Linked DNA regions of Homo sapiens: regions 1 and 2 are each linked to region 3. Evidence: promoter capture Hi-C in 16 types of primary human blood cells and fetal thymus (Javierre and others, 2016). All regions are on one chromosome and are shown on one strand. Each heading gives the region's core, a stretch centred on a gene start or on the middle of the fragment in contact. The rest is flanking DNA. Distances are from core to core; before and after follow the strand shown. Region 1 overlaps BAALC (BAALC binder of MAP3K1 and KLF4). Region 2 overlaps BAALC (BAALC binder of MAP3K1 and KLF4). Region 3 holds the start of LINC01181 (long intergenic non-protein coding RNA 1181).

Region 1 (3,166 bases), core at 111-2,610, 110 kb after region 3:
AGCCTTTTTTATCCTAACAATCAGGCATGGGATATGGGCCTATCCAGGATATGGGCCTCTTTGGCATTCCTGGAGGAGGTGGCTCCAATCAGATGAGGGCAATTCTCAAAAGAAGGGTGTGCTGTGAGCAGTTAGCAGCCAACAGTCACAGCAGCTGGGAGGGATGCTCTGGCAGAGTAAAGGGGATCTAGAGAGGGGTGTCGCCATCAGCTACACAAGGACACAGGATTTATGTGACATATTAGAAACATACATATCGTTTGCTAATAAATACAACAGAACAATGGATTTTTCTCCATCAGTGCAATAGTTCACCATTTATTTGGATGCACTACAGAGGAAGTAGTTTGTGTTCAGGGGCCATGTTGTTTGAAAAATGTGCATCTCTCAACACCCAGCACAAGGAGGTGCTCATGCCTGGAGGGGTGTTCCCACAGGATCTGAGGCAGACTATGTTCCCAGGAGGCAGACCAAGATGTCATTATACAGGATGTTAGGAAGTGCCCTTGAGGCCAACGCCTGTGGAAAGGGATGATGGAAGCAGGAGTGGGTTAAGGGAGAAGTCCAGCCACAATGCAAGCTGACAACAGCTTCAGCGACCCCTGCTCCATGCAGCTAAATGGCTTGTGGGAGCTGACCTGTTTAGGGCCCAAATGGTCAGACCTTTATGCCCTTCCATTTACCTGCACATTGGCCCATCTTGGGAAGGGCACAAACTTGAGTGAGGTGGCTCTCTGCAGCTGATGCTGTCCCCAGCTGGAGGCTACTTGCTGACTGTTCTCCCTGCAGCGAGGCAGCAGGTCATTTCTGGAATGGGGCTGGGCAGCAAATAACTGTGTCCATCCACTAGTGGAGGTGACTCACAAGCCCACTCGTGTTCACCCCCAGCACACAATCACAAGAATAGGCACAACACTGCCCCTCACCAATGCTGTTTTCTCTTTTAGGGGATGGAGAGTCAGGGACTGGACACATATACTTAAAGAACCTACAATTTAATTAATGCTTTAATGTTTAATATTAATTCAGAACTTTTGTCATTGGTTTATCCTTAGTTAGAAGTAGATAGTCTATCCTACTTTTTAAGCTTATTTTTTTCCCATTTTCATTTAGTGACAGTCATTGTACTAAGTACCTTACATGCATTACCTTATTTAATCCATATAAAAACCTTATGAGAGAGATAATATTATTATTCCCCATTTTACAGATAAGGGTTAGAGAGTTGGAAAAACTTGCCCATAGTGAAATCATATAGCCAGTATTTGAACCAAAGTCTCTCTGACTCCAAAGCTCAAACACTTAACCACTCTACTAAAGCCAACTATGAAAACTTTCACATTACCCTTTGATGGACCATAGCTCATTCACTCAACAGTGTTTTAATAAACATGCCCTATTCCAGGCTCTGTGCTGTGTTGGTATTAAAGATTCAACAAAGAAACCTCTGATAGGAAGCATATGTGCATGCGTTCTTGTGGGTCATTCTTCCTGACTGTGTGTGTGCGTGTATGTGTGTGTGTGTATTTGTGATAATCTCAAGAGATTAATGCAAATTGTGAGGACCTTCGTATATTTCTGTGAAAGGAAAATAAAAATCTCAGGACCCCAAACTCACTATGGAAAGGGAAAGTTAAGCTTAGGAGCTAAGCCACCCAAAACTGCCTTCCATTTTGTTCCTAAACAGATAACTGCAAAGATAGAAGGCCACATACCTTCCAGGGGGACTCCCTCACAATTTCTTACAAAGAAATTCCTTGTGGGCCCTAAGATCTTTACCCTAAAACAGAGTTCTGTTGGATTTCACCCCATGTAAATTAACAGCTTATCTTCACAGGTATGGGACAAAGACAGGACTAGGAGTCATCCCTCTGCTCACTTGAGACAAATGCATATTTTACTCATTAACTATTCTATGTTTCTTTTATCTTATGTAAAAAATGCAAGTTCATTGAGCATGAGACAAATGCATATTTGACTGTTCCTCTATCCCCTCCTTTCACACATAAAATGTGGATTCAGTGAATGCTCATCAAAGCCTCAAAAGAATGTAACTGTTTGCCCCTATTCTCTACCCTCCCTTTTCCTTTCCTCTTTCCCTTACTGCCCACTCTTTCCCCCTTAAATAGTGAAGTCCTCAAACCCTCTTTGGGAATTTTTGCACAGATCACAAATGTTCCTGTGATTTATGTTCCTTTTTCCCAGGCACATTCTCAACTATGGCACAATAAACCTCTAAATTGATTGAGACTTGCCTCGGTCATTTTCTTTGGTTTACATTTCCTAGTAACTCAATTCACTGTTTTCAACTTAACAGGCTAAAAGAGATGCTAAGAGAATGCCTGCAAAAGAAGTCACCATTAATGTAACAGATAGCATCCAACAGATGGACAGAAGTCGAAGAATCACAAAGAACTGTGTCAACTAGCAGAGAGTCCAAGCAGAAGGGCAGATGGACTTCTTCAGTGTCCTTCACGGCACTGGATCCCATCAAAGAACCTTGAAGAAGTGGCTGCCCCTTGCTGGACCTGAATTCTACTGAGTCCCTGGCAAGACTGTCTTACCTGGCAGCAAACTGCTGCCTGATTTGTTGGGACCTTCTGAGCCTTCTACTTATCATGTAAATGTATTGGCACAGTGCTTACATATGTTAATAAACTGCAAATGTGCAGTTCAGTTTGTCTCTTTGCAACTCCTGTAATACGGTCTGGTGTAAAAGTAGTGAGTTAAAGCTACAGGTCAGTTTATGAAACAGAAAAGTAGGAATGCATTTTCTGGGTGAAAGAGTCACACCTTAGTGCTATAACTCTCCTGCCCATGATAGTGTATTCTGTTTCAGGCAAGCTTATTCTTTCCTTCTTTCATTTTAAATATTGTCATTACAAATCTTACCAGGTTCACTTAAAAGCTGGCTTTCATCCAACTCTAAACCCACATATTGAAAAAATCAAGGTACAGGAAAACTCCTTGTTATCCTTGTTTCCTTAGCTTGGTATGAGACAGATCGGATCCAGTTTCCCATGCACCAACCCACTGCCCATGGCATGTCTTTGGGAGGTGTCTGTGAAGCAGTCATACCTGCTCCTCATCTGCCTGGAAAGTCCTCCTATTCCAGTGTCCATGTTGGCCTCCAGTCCTTAATGTCACCATGCTTGTGGCCAATGCA
Region 2 (3,305 bases), core at 365-2,864, 85 kb after region 3:
CAGGCTTTCGTTTCTCTTGGGTGTATACCCTACAGGAATTTCTGGGTTATGGTACCACTATGTTCAACCTTTTACAGAATTGCAGACTGAAAGCAGCTGTACCATTTAGTCTTCCCACCAGCAGTGTATGAGATTTCCAAATTCTCTACATTTCTGAGAACACTTATTCTGTATCTTTTTTTTATTATAGCCCCATCCTAGTGGGTGTGAAGTGGTATATCCTTGTGGTTTTTGATATGCATTTCTTTGATAGCTAATGATGCTGAGTATCTTTTCATGTGTTTATTGGCCATTTGCATATCTTCTATAAAGAAATGTCTACTCAGGTCCTTTGCTGATGTTTTATCTGGATTATTTATCTTTTTTATTATTGAGTTGTAGGAGTTCTTTGAAAGTTAGTTCCTTACCAAATATATAATTTGTAAACTTTTTCTCCTATTCTGTGGATTGCCTTTTCACTTTCTTCATGGTGTCCTTTGAATCACAAAAGTTTTCAGTTTTGATAATGCTCATTATATCTATTTTTCATTGTTGTTGCTTGTGCTTTTGGGGTCATTTCTAAGAAACAATTGGATAATCCAAGGTCATGAAGACTTACACCTATATTTTCCTTTCAGTGTTTTATGATTTTAGCCCTTACATTTAGATCTTTGATCCTTTTGACTTAGTTTTTGTATATGGTGTGAAGTAGGGGTGCACTTCATTATTTTGCATGTAGATATTCAGTTGTCATAGCACATGTGTTGAAAAACTATTCTTTACCCATTGAAGTGTCTTGGCACCATTGTCCAGAAAAAAATGACCATAAATTTAAGGGTTGCTCAATATTTTCTAAGAATGTGTTTGTAATAGCCATGCAAAAGGTCACATATTATAGTATTATACATAGTATGTGGCCAACAATTTCTCATCAGATTGAAGAAATGACACTGTCCCATTCTAGTTCATTTTAAAGATGAAACAAATTCTTAGTAAGTGGCTGAGCAATCACAGCTTGTTTTACTTATACCTCAGTTTAGACAAAATTATTATCTGCCATGTGTTCAGGACCTGAGAGCCCAGACAGTGTTTGATGAACCAGAGTTTCACTGGCTGTGATTTTAGGAGATTCTTTCCATATTGATTGCCAATGTCTTATACTTTGGTTTTCTGTCATTGAGGAGAATGACTTGCAGGTTGTTTCTGATGATTTTGGACCAACTCTCTGTGACCACCTTCACCAAGGAAAGCCAGGTGCTCAAGCTAAGGAGAAATTACCCCTTGACCTGCTCTCCACATGGCTTCTAGCTACCATTTTTAATTTCTGTACTCTTCCCTCCTGCCCAGCTCCATTTCCAAAATAGCAAGAAGCTTTGGCTTGGCAAGGAATCCCTGGGGTTGCAATTTATCAGCAAGCTGTGGACACAGCTATTTCCTATCTTTTGGCAAGGTTCAGTGATTTGACTTGTTTCCTGCATGGAATGAAAATTTTGTGAAGGGTGTCAAACAAGAAATACTCTAGGGGCACATAAATGTCTCCTAATTTACTGGTACAGACTTCACTATGGAAAAAATATACATGAGTACTTTGTGACCCTCAAAACTAACACGAGTGTTGATCTCTATGTCAGATAGATAGATGATAGATAGATAGATAGATCTATATATATCTATAATATAGATGAGCCTCTGCAGTCTTTAGAATCCCCTGCCTTAGAATCCCTGGGGGTGGGATACAGGGAACTTGTTAAGATGCATATTCCTGGGCCCCTACTGAATCAGAAGTTCTGGAGGAATGAATGTAGAGATCTGCATTTTAACAGACACCCCAGGTGAGTTTCATGTAGTTTCATGCATTAAAATTTGAGAACTGCCTACTTGGGAGTTTTTGCTAATACCACAAGCTTTGGAAACATACGGAACCTGGGTTAAACTTCAATTTCTTCTTCTGTAAAATAAGGGTAATTCTCCTGTCTCCCCAGCACGAGAGGAGTGGTGTGGAGTAGACATGCAAATAGAGCCCAGGGTTTAGTACAGTGCAACTTTCACAACAATGTCCCCACTCTGGGGCACTTGATGAGCATTTTGCATAACCCCAATAGGGTTGCCAGATAAAATTGAAGACACCCAGTTAAACTTTTATCTCAGAAAAATAATAAGTTTTGAATATAAGTGTGGCAGCAGTGCTGAGGGCAGTTTCCAGAGTCTAGGGTTGGTGGAAAGATTTAGGAAGTTGTCCCTTGATAGCCTCCATGCCTCAACCTCCAGCCTTCCCAGAAACACTGTGAGCTCCCAGATTATTTTAATAAATCCTTTTTTAAAGCTTTAATTCTCTAATCAATTTCTGTTGCTTACAGCTGAGAACCCTGACTGATACAGCATCTGTAACTCTCTACTCAACAACTGACCATCTGTCTTCCATTCTCCTCAGTTCCCTGAGCTCTCCCTGAAGTCATCAGGGAGACTTAATTGAACAATCTCTCAGGCTTTTCTTGCTGAGAGATTTTCTTGGAGAAGTATGTAGAGGTCATGGTCCACCCAAGACAACCTGCAAGGAGGAAGGAGCTAGGGAAATAAAAACCTGACCTCAATGTGCCGCCGCAGACCCTTCCCCTCTAAAGCTAATTCCTCCCATTGGTCAAACCCCACTAGAAGCCGGTGGACAAGAGAGCCTGTTGACATGTGCATTCAGGTCAGTCGTCTCCTGGGACACAGACCAGGGTAGAGAGAAGGGGAGAGTGAGACTGGAGGGGCAGAAGAAATACATCCAACAAGCAGGGTATGTATATTGTCTTGGCTCTGGTAGTAACAGAGCCTGAGATGGAGATTTTGTGCAAGTGACTCCTAGGGGCATTCCTGGGAGAAGAGTGTGAAGGAGGGAGGGAGAGAAGCAGGATGGGGCAGGACAAGGAGCTGAGCAAAGATGTGGTTTCAGGATTAGTCTAGCCTCAGCCTGATCCTATGGGTCACTTTGGAGTGAAAGGACAGAAATTGCTTAGAAGCAAAGGAGCTGGGCTATTGTACCCACTCTCCCCACCAACAGGTATTTTTAGTTGGTCATTAGCATGGACTGCCACTGATATTAATATAATCGGCAAGGCTTCTCCTGGTAAGGGGGCTCCCTTCAGTCAAGGGCAAGCCTTAGGAGAAGAAGCCAGGGGTGAGCTGTTAGCTACCAACATCCACCACACCTGGGGATGGGTGCAGGGTCAGGTGTGTGGATCTGGGCAGGCACTAATAGCATCTGTTGGAAGGACATACAGCTCTGTTGACAGGTCCAGGGGAGGAAAAAATAACTTTCTTTCCACTCTTAGTTCTTAGCTGTG
Region 3 (3,247 bases), core at 666-3,165:
GCTTCTAGGGGCAGGACTTAATTGAATTTAACAGCAGCTAAATGCTCAGCTAAAAAGAGAAGTTATGGGCTGGGTGCAGTGGCTCACGCCTGTAATCCCAGCACTTTGGGAGGCCGAGGTGGGCGGGTAATGAGGTCAGGAGTTCGAGACCAGCCTGGCCAACATAGTGAAACCCCATCTTTACTAAAAATACAAAAAATTAGCTAGGCATGGTGGCGGGCACCTGTAATTCCAGCTACTCGGGAGGCTGAGGCAGGAGAATCGCTTGAACCCAGGAGGCGGAGATTGTAGTGAGCCGAGATCATGCCATTGCACTCCAGCCCGGGTGACAGTGCAGGATTCTGTCAAAAAAAAAAAAAAGAGAAGTTATGGAAAACTGTGATGCTGCAGTGAAATGAAATCAGGCTGCTATGTGTCAGGCTGCGATGTGGGGCCCTGTGTCCTGAGTCACACACCAAAACAGGAAATCCCCTATTCTCATCTTGAAAAATTTATTAGTAAAATAAAGTAAATAAGACCAAGAAAAATAAGGCTGCTATTATTTGAATCATTTAGTGAAAAAGAAAAGCTTTCTAGAACCAACAGAACATGGTAATGAACACTCTGCCCCCATACTTATCAGTCTGTATTGGCATTTTCTGTGTAACATACCTTTCTTTCCTACTAGAAACAGTTTCTCTAGTTCAGGATCTATGTCTTATTTATCAACTCCCAAAACTGTCCCTTCTTTGAATTCCTTTGATACTTAATACCCAAGTCACTCATTTGGCATTTATGTTACCTTGTATGGTCTATTGTATTTCTATTCTGTTTATACATAGTGACTCTTGAACTAGACTATAAACTCCTTCGAGGTAGAAGTCTTGCTTTGAACATTTTGTGTCCCCATTTGTTATTTGTTGAAAACAAGGCATGCCAAGGAAGGTGCTAAGGGCTGGATATGGGATAAGAGACCCTGGTCTACCTTTGGGGATTCACAATCTGGGGAATTTCCTCAGGCAGGGCACAAAACCTATGAGACAATCCTGCTTTCCTGCTGAACTTGGACCTGGGACAGGGTGGGGATGGGTGAGGCTGGAGCTGCTGCAGCAGCGTGCCTCCAATGCCTATAAATTTCCTGTTGGCTCTCATCCGTCTGGGCTGAATTTTCTATCAACCAATAGAAAATACAGACAGGTATTATGAAAGAGGGTGTTAGGAAATCCCATGCAATTATTATACATGTCACAAATGTGTGGGTGCATATGCACCTGTGAGTGTGTGACAGACAGAGAGGGAGGAAGAGCACTAGGAGGAAATGCCATCTGAACTGAATCTTGAAAGACAAACGGGAGTTAACGAAAGATGTTCCTGAGAGAGTGGCAGGTCTGTGCTTGCATCCTGATGTCAGAGTCAGATAAACTCCAGAAGCCTCAGGGCCTCTGCACTCTATCCCAGTGCTTCCCCAAACTCCTGTTGAGGGCAGACTCTTTTAGAATATGTTAACGAATGGATGTGCAGAAGAAAACTATCTTCTGAGAACAAAATTGCTCTAGTTTCTGCATTGCTGGTTTTCTCTGAACCTTTAATATGCTGATAGGCACTCAACAACAGAATCCTTTGTTGGCAGAGCACAAATTACCCTCTGTCTGTTGAACAGTTTCAGAAAGTTTATGAAGCACTTTTCAATGAGGTGTGGAGTAATAAATGATTCAGCAACACTTAAGTCCTGCCACCCTAGGCCTAACTGGTTACACTGTCATGAAAATTTACAAATTACATGGTACCAAAGACAATATAAACACAATCTATTGGGTAAACAATTGCATGATGGATTACTGTAGACTTATCAATAGTTATGGCATAATTCAGTCTTTATTTTTGCATATGAAAGGCTCTCACGCAAGCATTTTTCTGTAGCTCATTGGAATACAGTACAGATGGCCTGGATCAGTGCAATGTGCAACAAGAGGACTATATCGTCTCAGTAAAAACCTTGAAGAGATGAACCCATTTCAGAGACCCAGCAAGGGATCACCTGCATATACAGGCATCAGCAGAAACAGGAATTTGGGATTTATCCTGGAGGTAGTGGAAGCTTTTGGAGGTCTTAACCAGGTGAATGCAATGATTGGGTATATTTTAGAAAGCTCATTCACAGGGAGAGAGGACTTGAAGCGGGGTTGTTACTAGAGACAAAGAAACTAGTTAGGAAGTTATTTCAGGTAATGAGGGAGACATAATTTAGGGGCTAAACCAAGGAAGTGACAATAGGAATGGAGAGAAGGCACAGCTTGCGAAGCATTTAGGTGGTAGAACTGATTGACTCAGCTCTGAGGCAGCTGTGGGGGTGAGAAGCTGGGGTGGGTGAGGGTGGGAAGAGGGTGGGGAGGGTTGGAGGAGTCAAGAATGAACCATGACTTCTGGTTCGTGCAACAGAGTGAAGAGCTGAGGCCCCATGGTTTCCAGGCAGCCTGTGCCAGTGAGAGAAATGCAGAATAGAGTTTGATTTGAACTCTGGCTCTGTCAACGACTTGGTACTATGGCCTTGTGCAAGCAAGTTAACGTCTCCAAGCCTTACTTTTATCTTTTGTAAAATGGGACGATGATACCCCGCTCTTGCATGTGTGAAATAACTAACACATAGTCTGTGCTTCAGAAGTGAAGTCACTGCTACTCAGAGAACACAGAAGGAGAAGCAGTTTACAGAGAAAGATGAGTTTCATTTCAGAAACACTGCACTTGAGGTGGCTTGGACAGCCATGTGGAGGTGTCCAGTAAGGCATTAGATATATAGGTATGGAACTCAGGAGAAAGATCTGGGCTGGAGAGAGTTCTAGGGGCCACTGACTTTTTGATATTAGGCCAAGGCAAGGAGGTAAATGAGAACAACCAGAGAGAGTGTGGAGAGGGAGAGAAATGCAGGCCCTAACGGACGGCCTTGGGAGCATCACCATTCAACAGCTGAGGAAAGGAAGCAGAGCCGGCAAGGGAGATGTTCTGGAGCCTGCAGGGCTGTGCAGTCAGAAGGAGGCGCAAACCAGAATCTGAAGACGCAGGTTTGAGTCTCAGCTCCCTTGCTGACTAGCTGTGTGATCCTCGCAATTCAGGTAACCTCTGTAAGCTTGTCTTCTCATTCGTCAAATGGGAATGCTGCTGATAATGTCTACTTCCTGGAGACTTTGGTGAGCTAAGGTGTATAATTTTTTTTTTTAAGCTAGAGAGCCTTATAAGTGGTTCCATGTGGTCATTTTTTCCCCCTAGACTG

The links. Contacts are between HindIII fragments. The CHiCAGO score rates a contact against its expected background, and 5 or more counts as called.
Region 1: a fragment that was not itself captured here is called in contact with the fragment with the promoter of LINC01181 in region 3 in 2 of 17 cell types (endothelial precursors and megakaryocytes); the score reaches 7.4 in endothelial precursors.
Region 2: a fragment that was not itself captured here is called in contact with the fragment with the promoter of LINC01181 in region 3 in 2 of 17 cell types (endothelial precursors and megakaryocytes); the score reaches 5.7 in endothelial precursors.

Annotation. Positions count from the first base shown.
Region 1 is chr8:103,225,672-103,228,837 of GRCh38, forward strand. BAALC (BAALC binder of MAP3K1 and KLF4) reads left to right here. Exons shown (of 3, transcript NM_024812.3): 3 at 2,318-3,166. The coding sequence ends at 2,428. Among named protein-coding and RNA genes, the nearest start is that of BAALC-AS1, 55 kb to the left of the region's middle. The HindIII fragment of the contact is 551 bases long and covers 1,086-1,636 here.
Region 2 is chr8:103,203,919-103,207,223 of GRCh38, forward strand. The region is part of intron 1 of BAALC (BAALC binder of MAP3K1 and KLF4); the gene reads left to right. Among named protein-coding and RNA genes, the nearest start is that of BAALC-AS1, 33 kb to the left of the region's middle. The HindIII fragment of the contact is 533 bases long and covers 1,349-1,881 here.
Region 3 is chr8:103,119,117-103,122,363 of GRCh38, forward strand. It overlaps LINC01181 (long intergenic non-protein coding RNA 1181), which reads left to right and starts at 1,916. Exons shown (of 6, transcript NR_145429.1): 1 at 1,916-2,097. RefSeq lists an enhancer at 2,953-3,247. The HindIII fragment of the contact is 1,509 bases long and covers 567-2,075 here.